Linked DNA regions of Homo sapiens: region 1 is linked to region 2. Evidence: promoter capture Hi-C in human tissues and cell types (Jung and others, 2019). All regions are on one chromosome and are shown on one strand. Each heading gives the region's core, a stretch centred on a gene start or on the middle of the fragment in contact. The rest is flanking DNA. Distances are from core to core; before and after follow the strand shown. Region 1 overlaps ADAMTSL2 (ADAMTS like 2). Region 2 holds the start of DBH (dopamine beta-hydroxylase).

What was found. The method cuts DNA at HindIII sites, captures the fragments that hold promoters and counts their contacts. A contact is called where the count stands out against the background at its distance.
Region 1: a contact is called between a fragment that was not itself captured here and the fragment with the promoter of DBH in region 2, in 3 of the 25 tissues and cell types used here (H1 embryonic stem cells, IMR-90 fibroblasts and dorsolateral prefrontal cortex).

What each region holds. Positions count from the first base shown.
Region 1 is chr9:133,555,902-133,561,234 of GRCh38, reverse strand. ADAMTSL2 (ADAMTS like 2) reads right to left here. Exons shown (of 19, transcript NM_014694.4): 11 at 5,305-5,333; 12 at 1-37. Among named protein-coding and RNA genes, the nearest start is that of ADAMTSL2, 24 kb to the right of the region's middle. RefSeq lists enhancers at 3,889-4,390, 4,893-5,333. The HindIII fragment of the contact is 5,763 bases long and covers 1-4,676 here.
Region 2 is chr9:133,633,203-133,638,905 of GRCh38, reverse strand. It overlaps DBH (dopamine beta-hydroxylase), which reads right to left and starts at 2,543. Exons shown (of 12, transcript NM_000787.4): 1 at 2,196-2,543. The coding sequence starts at 2,534. RefSeq lists an enhancer at 543-1,278. The HindIII fragment of the contact is 16,885 bases long and covers 1-4,701 here.

The sequences.
Region 1 (5,333 bases), core at 546-3,045, 77 kb after region 2:
GGGACTCACGCCTTGCTTGCGCGCCTTGGGCCTGGTCCTGAAAGCGAGACCAAGCAGGGAAGGTGATGAGACGCTCCAGGCCCCACCGGCAGGCTCCGGCTTTTCAGGCGAGGGAGTTTTCTTCGGAGGGTATGTTCGCCTGAAGCACACACCTGTCCTGAGCCCCGGGCCGACCCTCCACCTGCTACGGTCAGAGTTCCCACTGTCTGAAGTGGAACGGATGAGGCGCCCGCAGAGGGGCACATTTTAGGATTGATTGGCATTGTTTTCCATCTCAACTGCATGGGAGCTGCCCGAGCTCCTTCCGGAGGGGAGGGGTGGCCTGAGAATTTGGGGCCCCCAGCACTGTAGTTGCTCCCTGCACACACGCAGGCTTCTCAATATTACCTTCTCACATCAGCTAGTGGGTTCCTTCTTCCCACCGGGGAGGGGACCTCAGAAGGTGTCTTATGTGCTAAGAATGTTCCAGAATTCTCTCCCACCCCCTCCTCCAGCTGGGACTCTGATGGAATGGGGGACACTAGGCATCCAGCCTCCAATTATCAAAATTAAAAAGCTCGGCTGCTGGCAGGGGCCGAGCCTACAGTGCAATTCAGGCAGGCCATGGCTGCACGGACCTGCTGGGGTCGGGGGAGGCACGCTGGGTCCCAGCCAGCCACCAGCTATGATTCTTGGCTGGAGCCTATGCAGCCAAAGCCAACTATTGTTAGGACTGTTTGCTTCTTTGAACCAGTAGGTGTGCCTGGGCCCAACCTCCACATCCAATGTGCAGGCTCATTCTGGACTCGGCAGGGGAGGAGGGAAGCAGAGGCGGCAGCAGCTCCACAGCCCGGGCATCTGCTCTGGGACGCCACCATGGAGTCCCGCCGCCCCTGAGCCAGAGAAGGGGCGATGGCAAGCCGGCGCGGTGGACAGCAGGTCCTTCGAGCCTCGACTTCCTTTTTAAACTGGACAGTGCAGCAGGTGGCATTGCCCAACTCCACTTTCCTCTGGGCCCAGAGGGGCTGGCTAGAGATGACCCCAAGCCGCCATACTTCACTGGGCTGAAACGTGGGCCAGGTCACAGGTCCTTCTTCAGGACCTTCAGTCACCTGGGGGTGGTCAGGCTTAGAGCATTATATTCAGAAAGGCTTTCAGATTGACTCCGTGATACAGACATGGGTTTGGATTGAATGGGGAGTTTACAATGTGTTAGGCAAGCGGGTGAGCATTGCTCTTCTGTTTTGCTTGGACTGGAATGGGAGGATCCCACAGCCAGGCAGTATTTGTGGGGATGAACGCTGCCTTGACCACACATCTGAGGCCCCAGGAATGATCTACCCACAGGAGCTTCAGCAGTGAGTTCACTGGTGTGGCTCCCTAAACTCAGGGAGGGAGAAGAGGAGTGAAGGGAGAAGGCATGGGGACCAAGGCCCAGGAAGGGCTGCGGGCTGGGGGCTGGTCCCACTGTTTCTTCAAAGCCTCCTTCACCTGGGAGCTTCAAGCCAGGAGAGTCTGTCCCATCCTGGGGCTCAAGGGGAAGGGAAGAGTGCCTTCTCCTCCCTCTTTCAGAACTTAGAGGAAGCTTTAAAAATGGGGGTGGGGGCCAGGCGCAGTGACTCTTGCCTGTAATCCCAGCACTTTGGGAGGCCGAGGCGGGTGGATCACGAGGTCAGGAGATCGAGACCATCCTGGCTGACATGGTGAAACCCCGTCTCTACTAAAAATACAAAAAAAAAAAAAAATTCACCGGGTGTGGTGGCGGGCGCCTGTAGTCCCAGCTACTCAGGAGGCTGAGGCAAGAGAATGGCATGAACCTGGGAGGCAGAGCTTGCAGTGAGCCGAGATCACACCACTGCACTCCTGAGCAACAGAGTGACTCCGTCTCAAAAAAAAAAAAAAAATGGGGGTGGGTGGGGGGTTTCCCAAGACCCTGTCATCTCAGAACAAAAGTTCCCTGGAAACCTGGAAAACTGCCCCAATGGGGGCCACTCAGAGCACCCAGATCAGGATAAGTAAGTCCTTTCAGGGAACGGAGAACCCGGAAGACCAGTCCTTAATGTTCGATTCAGAAAACACTAAACTGTGCTGACCAGTTCCCCACCTACTTTCAACAGCTTTAAATTCTCCCCAAGAACAAAAAGAGATGAAAAGATCCAACCCATGCCCCTCCACCCCACCCATGGAGACGCTCCGCCATCTTTATCTAATTACATGCTCTGAGCCAGCAGGCAGCATGACTCATGCCTGACTCAAGAGAGAGCGGGCCCGGTTCAAAATAACCCTTTGGATTTTAAGCACCAAAGGTATTTCTGGAGGGGCTGCCCACACACTCTTCGCAGCAGCACGTGTGGGGCATAGCAGATGCAACTCTTGAACATAACCCTGCATATATTTGCACAACAATGCAACGCCTAGCAGGTTCCGTTCTTGGAAGTAGCACAGGGAAGCGGAACACCAAGGAAATCGCTGAAGCACCAAACCGTCGCTCTCCTCCATCTGGAAGGAAGTCACTGCCCCTCTCAGCTGTGAAAGTCAGAGCTGCTAGACTGGGGCTGGTGACGGCTGTGGAGTCACCACCAGACCACCTGTCACTCCTCAGGGTCCTTCGCCCAGATGCCCGGCCAGACACAGGCTCACGGGCTCCCCAGGCAGGAGAAGCTCTGAAGCCACCGTGTTTGTTTATAAACAAGCCAGAAAGTGCTCTGTTCTTCTCTCCCCCCAAGGCTGCGGAGAGGGACTCCGCGTCTCTGTGTCTCAGAAGCTTGTTCCCAAAGTCGGAGTCTGGTGACAGGGGCCCCTCCCTTGATTGTTTGAAGCTTTTCTGGAAAGATGAAAATAGCCTTTCCTTTCTGGGCTGCCCCTTTGATTTTGCCTTCTCTGAGCAGACACGACTTCCTGTGTTTGGACAACTCGGCCGAGACGTGGCTATTTTGGCCTGGTGGTTTCCCCCGCCGCCTCCCTCTGCCCTTTATCTCTCCACACCATCTTTGGTCCCTGTGCGGCAGCATCCTTTGATGGCAGGCCGGCCGGGGGAGCAGCGGCATCTCAGCAGTCAGGGCCTTTCTGAGTGCTGACAGCCTAGTTGATCGACCCTTGAGGCCCCTGACAGGCCCTGGAAATTCAATATATCCTGGGGCGGGGGGCTAAGAGGGGAGGGTAAGAGTCAACCAAGATGGGGCAGGAGAGACTCTTTACAAAGCGGCTTGAGGATCCGTAAGCTTGTGCCATGACCCTGGCCTAAGGATCACTGAATATTTGACCTGGTGGGCCCAAAGGGCAGCCCCTGACAAGCCCCCCAGTGAGAGATGGGGAAACTGAGGCCCAGAGGAAGACAGAGATGCTCAACTCACACAGTGTCCATGCCTTAAGCCAAATTCCACAGCGAGGCCTCGGTGCCACTCTGATAAACCTATTCTATTTGGAGGGCCGTGACTGCCGGAGAGCTGGCCTCCCTGACCCAGGCAGTGGGTCCTGAAAGGCACCCCCCACTGCTGCCACTTGGAGGCTCAGTTTTCTACTAATAGCTTCTACTTACTGGAGGCCTTACCGTGGGCCTCACACACGGAATACCAGGGAATGCCCCGGACTGCCCTGGGAGGTGAAGAGGGCCCACGCTGAAGACACAGACAGACTGGCAGCCTTGAGTAGTGCCGTTCCCACAGGCAGGCACTGTCTGGGTCCGTCCCTCCTGCCCTTTACCCAGGACCCCCTCTCAGACTCAGACACTATACCCAAAGCAAGGCCCGGCCCTCCCCGCCCGAGTCCTGAGAACCAGCCACAGGCCCCACCTACCCAAGGCTTTGAGCATGCCAAGGTAAAGGGTGAGCAGACAGCCCTGTGCCACCCCTGTGGGAAGAGGGGCAGCCAGAGGAGGCTCCGAGGCCCCACTCTGTCCACATCTGCAAAGTAGGATTCCGCCCAGAGCCTGCCAGAAGTGCTCAGGACATCCTCCCTGCACCCCGCAGCCCCAGGCACCTCGGTGGCCTCAGAAAACAGTTTGAGAAAAGCGGCAGGCATCCCCTGGGGCTCCTGGCTCACCAGGGAGGTTGGCTTTGTTGCTCTGGTCCCAGGGCTGGATGGGTGGGAGGGTGGCCCCAAACCACATCACCTCGAGAGTGAACCCTGAATCTCCCATCAAATTCAGTCCCTGAGCCCCAAGGAAGACCCACTCAGCACTCCCAGCCCAGGCCGGGTTCAGTTCATGCTTGCGTCTAAAGTCAAAGGGCTTGGGTTGGACCTCAGAAAACAAAACCAAACACCAGTGAGCCCGTGCCTGCCTCCAACCCCCACTCACTGCCTGTTTAAAGTAGCCCCCAGGCACATGTGAGTTGCTGGGAGAAACTGTGGGGACCTGCAAGGGTGGCCACCCTCTATCTGGGGGCAGGCGGGGCTTGTCACCACGGACTGTGCTCCAGTAGGGACACGACAGGTCTGGGGTCACCCTGCTCACAGCTGGCCCCTGACACAGGGAAGCTCCCAACCTCAGACTTCCCCAGGTCTAGCTGTGACTGCCCAGGCGTCCCCAGCTGTGACTGTCCAGACAACCCTGGCTGTGACTGCCCAGGTGTCCCCAGACATGGCTGCCCCCAGACATGGCTGCCCATGTAGACCCAGCTGTGGCCTTGGCTCTGGAGGCCTGGCCCCAGGTGGACTCTCTCATGGCCCTTGCCAGCTGCAATGCCAGCCTTGTTCTTCATCCCTGATTTCAGGCTCTTGCCCCTCATGGAGGAATCCACTAGATCCTCTCCAGCCCTTGCTGAGGCTTGGGACTGAGCCACTCTGCACTTGGGGAGCTGCCTGGAGCTCCGCCTCCTCCTACAGGCGTGTGTGCCATGACTGTCCAGGCTTAAAACTAAGGGGTCCCAGGTTCTCAGGCTCTGTGACCTCGAATACACCGCTAGCTCTCTCTGAGCCCACAATAGCAAATAGCAACCCCACCACTAAGGGCGGTTGTGACGATGACATGTTTCCATGCATATAAAATGCTGAGCTCTGTCCCTGGCTCACAAGGCATGCTCAGAGCTGTTAGCTTCCTGCCTCCCTTCCCCCCATCAGCTGCACACATAGGGGCTCAGCCCTGGATCCTAATCCATGGACATAACTTTTGGGGAAAACTCACTGCAGCCCAGGCCTCTGACTTTGTGCTCAGATCCACGGGGCAGCGAGTGGAGAACCCCGGGAAGAAGGGGCCCTCTCTCCTCTACCTCTAGGACCTCAGCCCTTCTGGCCAGACCCCCCCAGTGGGGCCTCACTTTCTACCTGGCCTCGGCCCCATCCTGCCCCCTGAGGGCCCTGGACAGGGCTCAGGAAAGTGCCTCCTACCTGGCCTTGTGAGTCCTGTTCCCGGCCGA
Region 2 (5,703 bases), core at 1,294-3,793:
GGTGGCCCGAGGCCAGGTCACATGGAAGACCACCAGGGAGACCCACTGAGAGACAGCGAGGAGCCTTCCCCAACAAGCAGGCTGCCCTTCGTACTCAAGAAGGGCCCTTCTTAGATTCCATATTTGTCTATTTGGCATCTATTAATTGATTGAAGGCTCAAACAGATGGTCAGAGTTGTTTACACCTGTCCTGCCCTCCAACATTCACACGTGTGTGAGAATCATATTCCTAACATTCCGACCCACACCAAGCCCATATCCCTAGCTACCTCCTCCACCTGACTCTCACACCCCAGGCCAATATTGCCCCAACCCTAAAACACCCTAGGGCCAGGAACCAGGCAACTAGAGACCACCCCAGCCACCCAGAGCCCACCAGAATTGTCCAAACGAAGCTGCTTCCCTGCCCTGCCTGGCCTTTCCCATGGAAACCCCAAGAAAGCCTCGGGCCCTTGGCCTTAAGGACTTTGGGTTGTGTTTCTTTTTAATCTTACATTCAGGGTAAAACATCTTTTCTTCATTTCCTTGAGAAAAAAGAAATCTGCAAAAGATACTGCAAAACTTTCCCTAGAGAAAAAAGCCACACAATGCAACCCCGCTGGGGACACCGCTGGTTTGCCGAGAGACTCATTTTAAACAGAGGCAGAAAGTTCGCCTGTGATATTTCAGCTGGAAATCAAGAAGATATTAGTTGAACATATTGCTTAGGGAGGAATAATAAGGCTGACATTTGCTTTCGTAGGAATTTGTTGTGCAAATTAACCTTGCCAGTGCACGGAAAGGCAAAGTCACCTGGCTTCCTCTGGCTTCCCTAGCAGCCGGGAAATGCAGGCAGGGGGGACGCTGCCCCAGAGAGGAGCAAATGCTCCTGCACTCAGGGTGCCTCATGGCAGAGGCTTGCGAAGAACCCCAAACTGTCAGCGATGGGGTTCAGCTGCTCCTCCAGACGGCTGACGGCTCAGAATCAGGGCTGTCCCAGGTCTTTCTTGGCTGGAACCTGAGCCACAGAGTGTCTTTGTGCACAGGAATCTGTGCAGCCCTATGGGTCAGAGCAGGGCCCTTCCCAGGCAGCTCCACTCACCCTACCTGGGTGGCCCTAAGCCTCACTAGCGACACAGGCAAGTGCCTCCTGGCCGAGTCTTGGGAATTGGAGGGGGCAAGCTCAGCTCCAGAAACAGCAGCCACCATCTGCCCTCATGAATTCACAACACCCAAAAAGGCAGAGAGGGACTCTCCGCCCCACCAGCCCATGGTGAGACCAAGATGCAGAGCTGGAGCCGGCCGCTCCGCACAGACACAGCTCCCCCGCTCCAGCTCGGCACTCCCAGATAAAGCAGGCACCTCCTGACTTCAGAAATAAAACTTTTTTGTCACTCCTTTGTGTGTTTCTGTGGAGAGAGTTGGGTTTCATCCACAAAGAAGCCCTGGTGGCCAGTCCCATGTGGAAAGGAAGGCTGGAGCAGGACCCATTGTAGGCGGTGGGCTCGCCCACTTCGGGGACCCCCTGCAGCTTGTGGAAGGGCCTAAAGTCCCCTCCAGTTTGAAGGGAAACTTTTCCCCTTTCTCCACCCTGTGAAACAAGAGTGGAGGTAAATTTGGACGGAAAGGAGTCAAGAGCCCATCCTAACAGTTTTGGCTGAGCCCTGTGGGGCTTGTTCAACACCTATGGGTAGGGGCAGGGTGTCTGCACCTGCTCAGTTGGTCCACGGGTACAAGCACAGTAGGTCAGGCTGGATCCCATGGGTGTGCAGGCCTCATGCTGTGCCCAGCCACGCGCCACCACCTGGCCCACATCAGTGGGCATGTGTGCTCTGGGGACGTGGTACTAGGCATTGTTTACAGGGCCGAGGGTCGTGGGGTCTGTGCTCATGCGCGTGTGGGGTGTGGAGCGGCACGAGTGTGTGTGGTGTGTGCGTCCTCTGTGTATAGTTCCATTCCTTGGGATTACTGGGTCCCATGATTTGGGGCGGGCAGTCAAGGACCATGGAAAGCATGTCTTTCCTATTTTGTCCTCAAACTGAGATCCCCATGATGCCCAAGCTCGGGGTGCAGACTTGGCTCAGAGCAGAGTCAACTCAAACACTGACAGGTGACAGAAGAACTTTCTGGGTTAAGGAGGGTGAGTGCAGAAAGACGGCCAGATGGGGTGCCGGGTCAGGAAGGGTTTGGAGAGCTGGCAGGGAGGAGAGACTCACCGCAAAATAGGCAGTGTCCCCATCGGTCCAGAGCACCACGAGATCTGCGTTCTCAAGCTCGCCACGGTCGGACATCCCAAACAGGACGCCAGCCTTGAGCCTCCGCACCAGGAGCTGGAAATGGATGGCCTCCTGGGTGTAGCTGACATTCCATGAGAGCTCCAGGGACCCCTCCGGGTCCAGGGGGATGTGATAGGGGAGGGGGCTCTCACGGGGAGCCGAGCCCTGCAGTGCGGCCACCAGGATGACCAGGAAGATGGCCACTGCTGTGCTGTACATGAAGGCTGCCTCCCGCATGCTGGGGCCGGGCAGGCTGGCCCAGCGACTGAGGGCGGGCATGGCTGGGGTGAGCTCTCTGGTCCCACCTGGCCATTTATGCCCTGGTCCTGAATGGGGTGGGTCCAGGCAGCACGGGTAATCACATTTGTCTAGCGGGGAATCCAATTTTCCCTCCCACAAGCTTGCGCCCCAGGCCAAGCACTCAGCCTGCTGCCCTCCTCTAATTGGCACTAATGACACATGGACGTCATCAGTGGGAGTTGAAGTAGACAGGCGGATGCTGTCCCTTCTGAGATGGCTCTGAAGAGCTGTCCCAAAAGCAGATGCACCCTGCAGCCAAGAGGCCTTTCAGACACCCTCTGGCCAGGCACCAGCTGACTGCCTCACAGGCTGTCTGGCCCAGTCCCCAGTGGGATGGGGTCTGCGTCGCCTCTACCCACGGATGAGCAGACTGAGGTCCGAGGAGCTGCTCCAGGCTGACCAGTGAAGGATAGGCCCGTAGCCACTGCAGGCCTGGCCTAGCGAGCAGAGCCGTTTGTACAATACTAGCAGGTGGGCCCATTTCAAACCAAAAATAAGACAATCTCCAAATAGTCCCTGTGTTTAGACACTCTCTCCACGGCCTGCTCTTCCCACTTTTGTCTCCTCTCAATTTTTCCACAGCCTCCAGCTGGTACCACTGCTGCTCCAGAAGGCGCGAGAGCATCATAGGGAGTGGGGGACATGGGCGTGGGGTGCATTGCTGGGGACAGACGGAGCTGGAGCTGCACAGGGGATAGGCAGGCTGCAGGGTGCACTGCTGGGGGTGACAGCCTTTAAGGAAAAGAGGGTGAGTGACAGGCCTGCTCCCCTGTCTCTGAAGCTCCCAAACCCACAGCTTCCTCTTGCCCAGAGCAGATCTGGCCTGAATTTGAAGCCTCTCAGGGCAGCTGGCCGCAGCCCTGCTTCTCCCACACCTGCCACAGGACCTTTGCCATCATCCACCCGTGGGCCCGAGGGTCAGTCTCACCACGGCACCTCTCCCTCCTGTCCTCTCCCACAAGTAGACTGAGGGCAGCTGCCTTCAGGACATTCTGCTTGATCCCTCCAGCTCCACCCCCCAGGCTGGGTTGACAGATCTCTCCAGCTGGACTAGAAGCTGTCCCTCCTCCCCAGCCTCCTCCCTCCCTTCCTTCCTTTTCCCTCCTGTTTCTCGTCTCTCTGGAGAAACCCAGAATCTAGCCTTAGGGGCACATTCATGTCATAGGCTGACAGCAACATTTAGGTCCTTAAATACCCATGACAGCAGGTCTGGAGGCTGCTTCAGCTCTGAGCTCTACGCTGTAGAAAGGAATGACTGTGTCTTTGCACGAACGTGAAATTTGGAGAAAGTGCCAGCCTTCCCCTGGCCCTCGCAGGCAGTGCTCTCTGCCCCACAGTGGCCAGGCCATCCTGCAAAGCCAAGCTCAGGCCATGAGCCCCTCCCCACTGATTGCACCCAGAGGGGCACCGTTCGCCCCCACCCACAGCCCAGGCAGGTGAGGTCCAAGTGCATAATCACCTGTGCAATAGAGTGTGGCATTGGTGTGAAATTGTCTCCCAGGCCAGGGGAAAGACACTCTTGGGAGTTCTCTGGTGAGCCTTGGGAAGGGTCTCAGCCTCCGAAGGCCTGGCTTTCCCATCAGGACATGCCACCTCCGTCGCCTGAGAGCACCTCACCTTCATGCCTCAGATTAGTTCCAAAACCTCCTCACCTGTGCCTTGTAAGCAGGTGTCTGCTGCATCCCGGACATTCACTCTCGGGACTGGGGAGCGGCCACAGCGAGCCGGTGATACGAAGAGCCTCCGGGGTGGGCAGGCACTGGTGTTCCCAGCACGGGATAACAAAAGCCAGCAGAGGCAGAGGTGAGGGTCACGGGCTCCACAGCACACCCAGCTCAGGGGTGAGCCCTCCCAGCAGCCTGGTGGCCACCCAGGTGGCTCCAGCTAGACAACAGGCTAAACGAGCACCAGCTGGGGCCCGCGTTGTGGGAAGGGGGGCACCTCTCTCCCCTCTGGGGTATTGAGGCCCCAGGCACCCCTCCTGCTCCTCCGGGGTCAGAGCTCTGGGGTCATATCCTGCTCCGCCCTCCTGAATGCGCAGCTGGCGTCCTCAGAGAAGCGCTTTCCAACCCAGCGCCTCCTCCCCATCTACAGACACAGGAAGTTGGATGACAAGGACAATTGATCCCTCCAGCTTCCTTCAACCCAGCGGTTCTGTGGAGCGAGAGGCAGTGAAGAGCCCCTGATGCTACCAGCCCTTGGACGGCTCAACACACCTCCAGGCCTCGCTCCTCTCCCGGATACGCCAAAGACCAACAGCTGCTGGGAGCTCTAAGGAGGGACGGCAGGTGCGGTCTCGTGCTCAGCAGTGTTATGCACACATGTTTATTTTTAACAGGAATCAAAGACATTTTCTTTATCCAACTCAAAACTGGCTTTCCTCTAGCATTTGACAGAAATGATTCAGCTGATTCCAAAATACTGATAACTAAGTCCTAGGGAGGGACAGGAGACACAAGTCAGGCCGCACCAGGGCTTCCCCTGCCCTGCCTCCATCCTGGCCAGCCTTGGGTGGCTGGGTGTGCGATCATCCCTGTCTCAGACACAGGAGAGTCAGCCTCGGAGAGGCGAGACAATGCGCCTGAGCTCACAGGGTGGGCCAGTGCCTGGGGCAAGCACCCCAAAGAGGGTGCCCTGAGCTGGAGGGGGCTGCACACCTTGTCAGCCAAGGTCAGAAAAATTCCACTGGAGTCAAGAGGAAGGGACGCTCAAATGAAAAATGCAACCGCAGAGAAAATCTGCGGAGACTGGGGCCGGGCGGGAGGGAGCGAATCCAATCGGATGGCCCCGTGGCTGCGCCCTTCCTTGCATTAATGGATTTTAAAAGGGAGCAATCCGACCCCAGGGTAAGGAAGCAACAGTCAGCTCTCCTCCTGCCCTCACCCTCCTCAGAGGTGACACCTGCTTGCCAGGTGCTCTCTTGGCCACATGCCTCCCTGTGGTGCCCCGCGGGGGGCTTTCCTCCCTGCTCCCACCCCTGCTGCCTCTGCTCCAGTGTCTGGGTGCACGTTGCCCTCCAGAGGTGGCGGTGGGGGTGGGGATGGGAATGGGGGTGGGAGTGGGGTTGGGGGTGGGGTAGGCCGGGGAGGTGCAGGGTGTCACGGCCACGGTGTCAGGAAATAAGCCCCATTCCTGCTGCTCAGCGCCT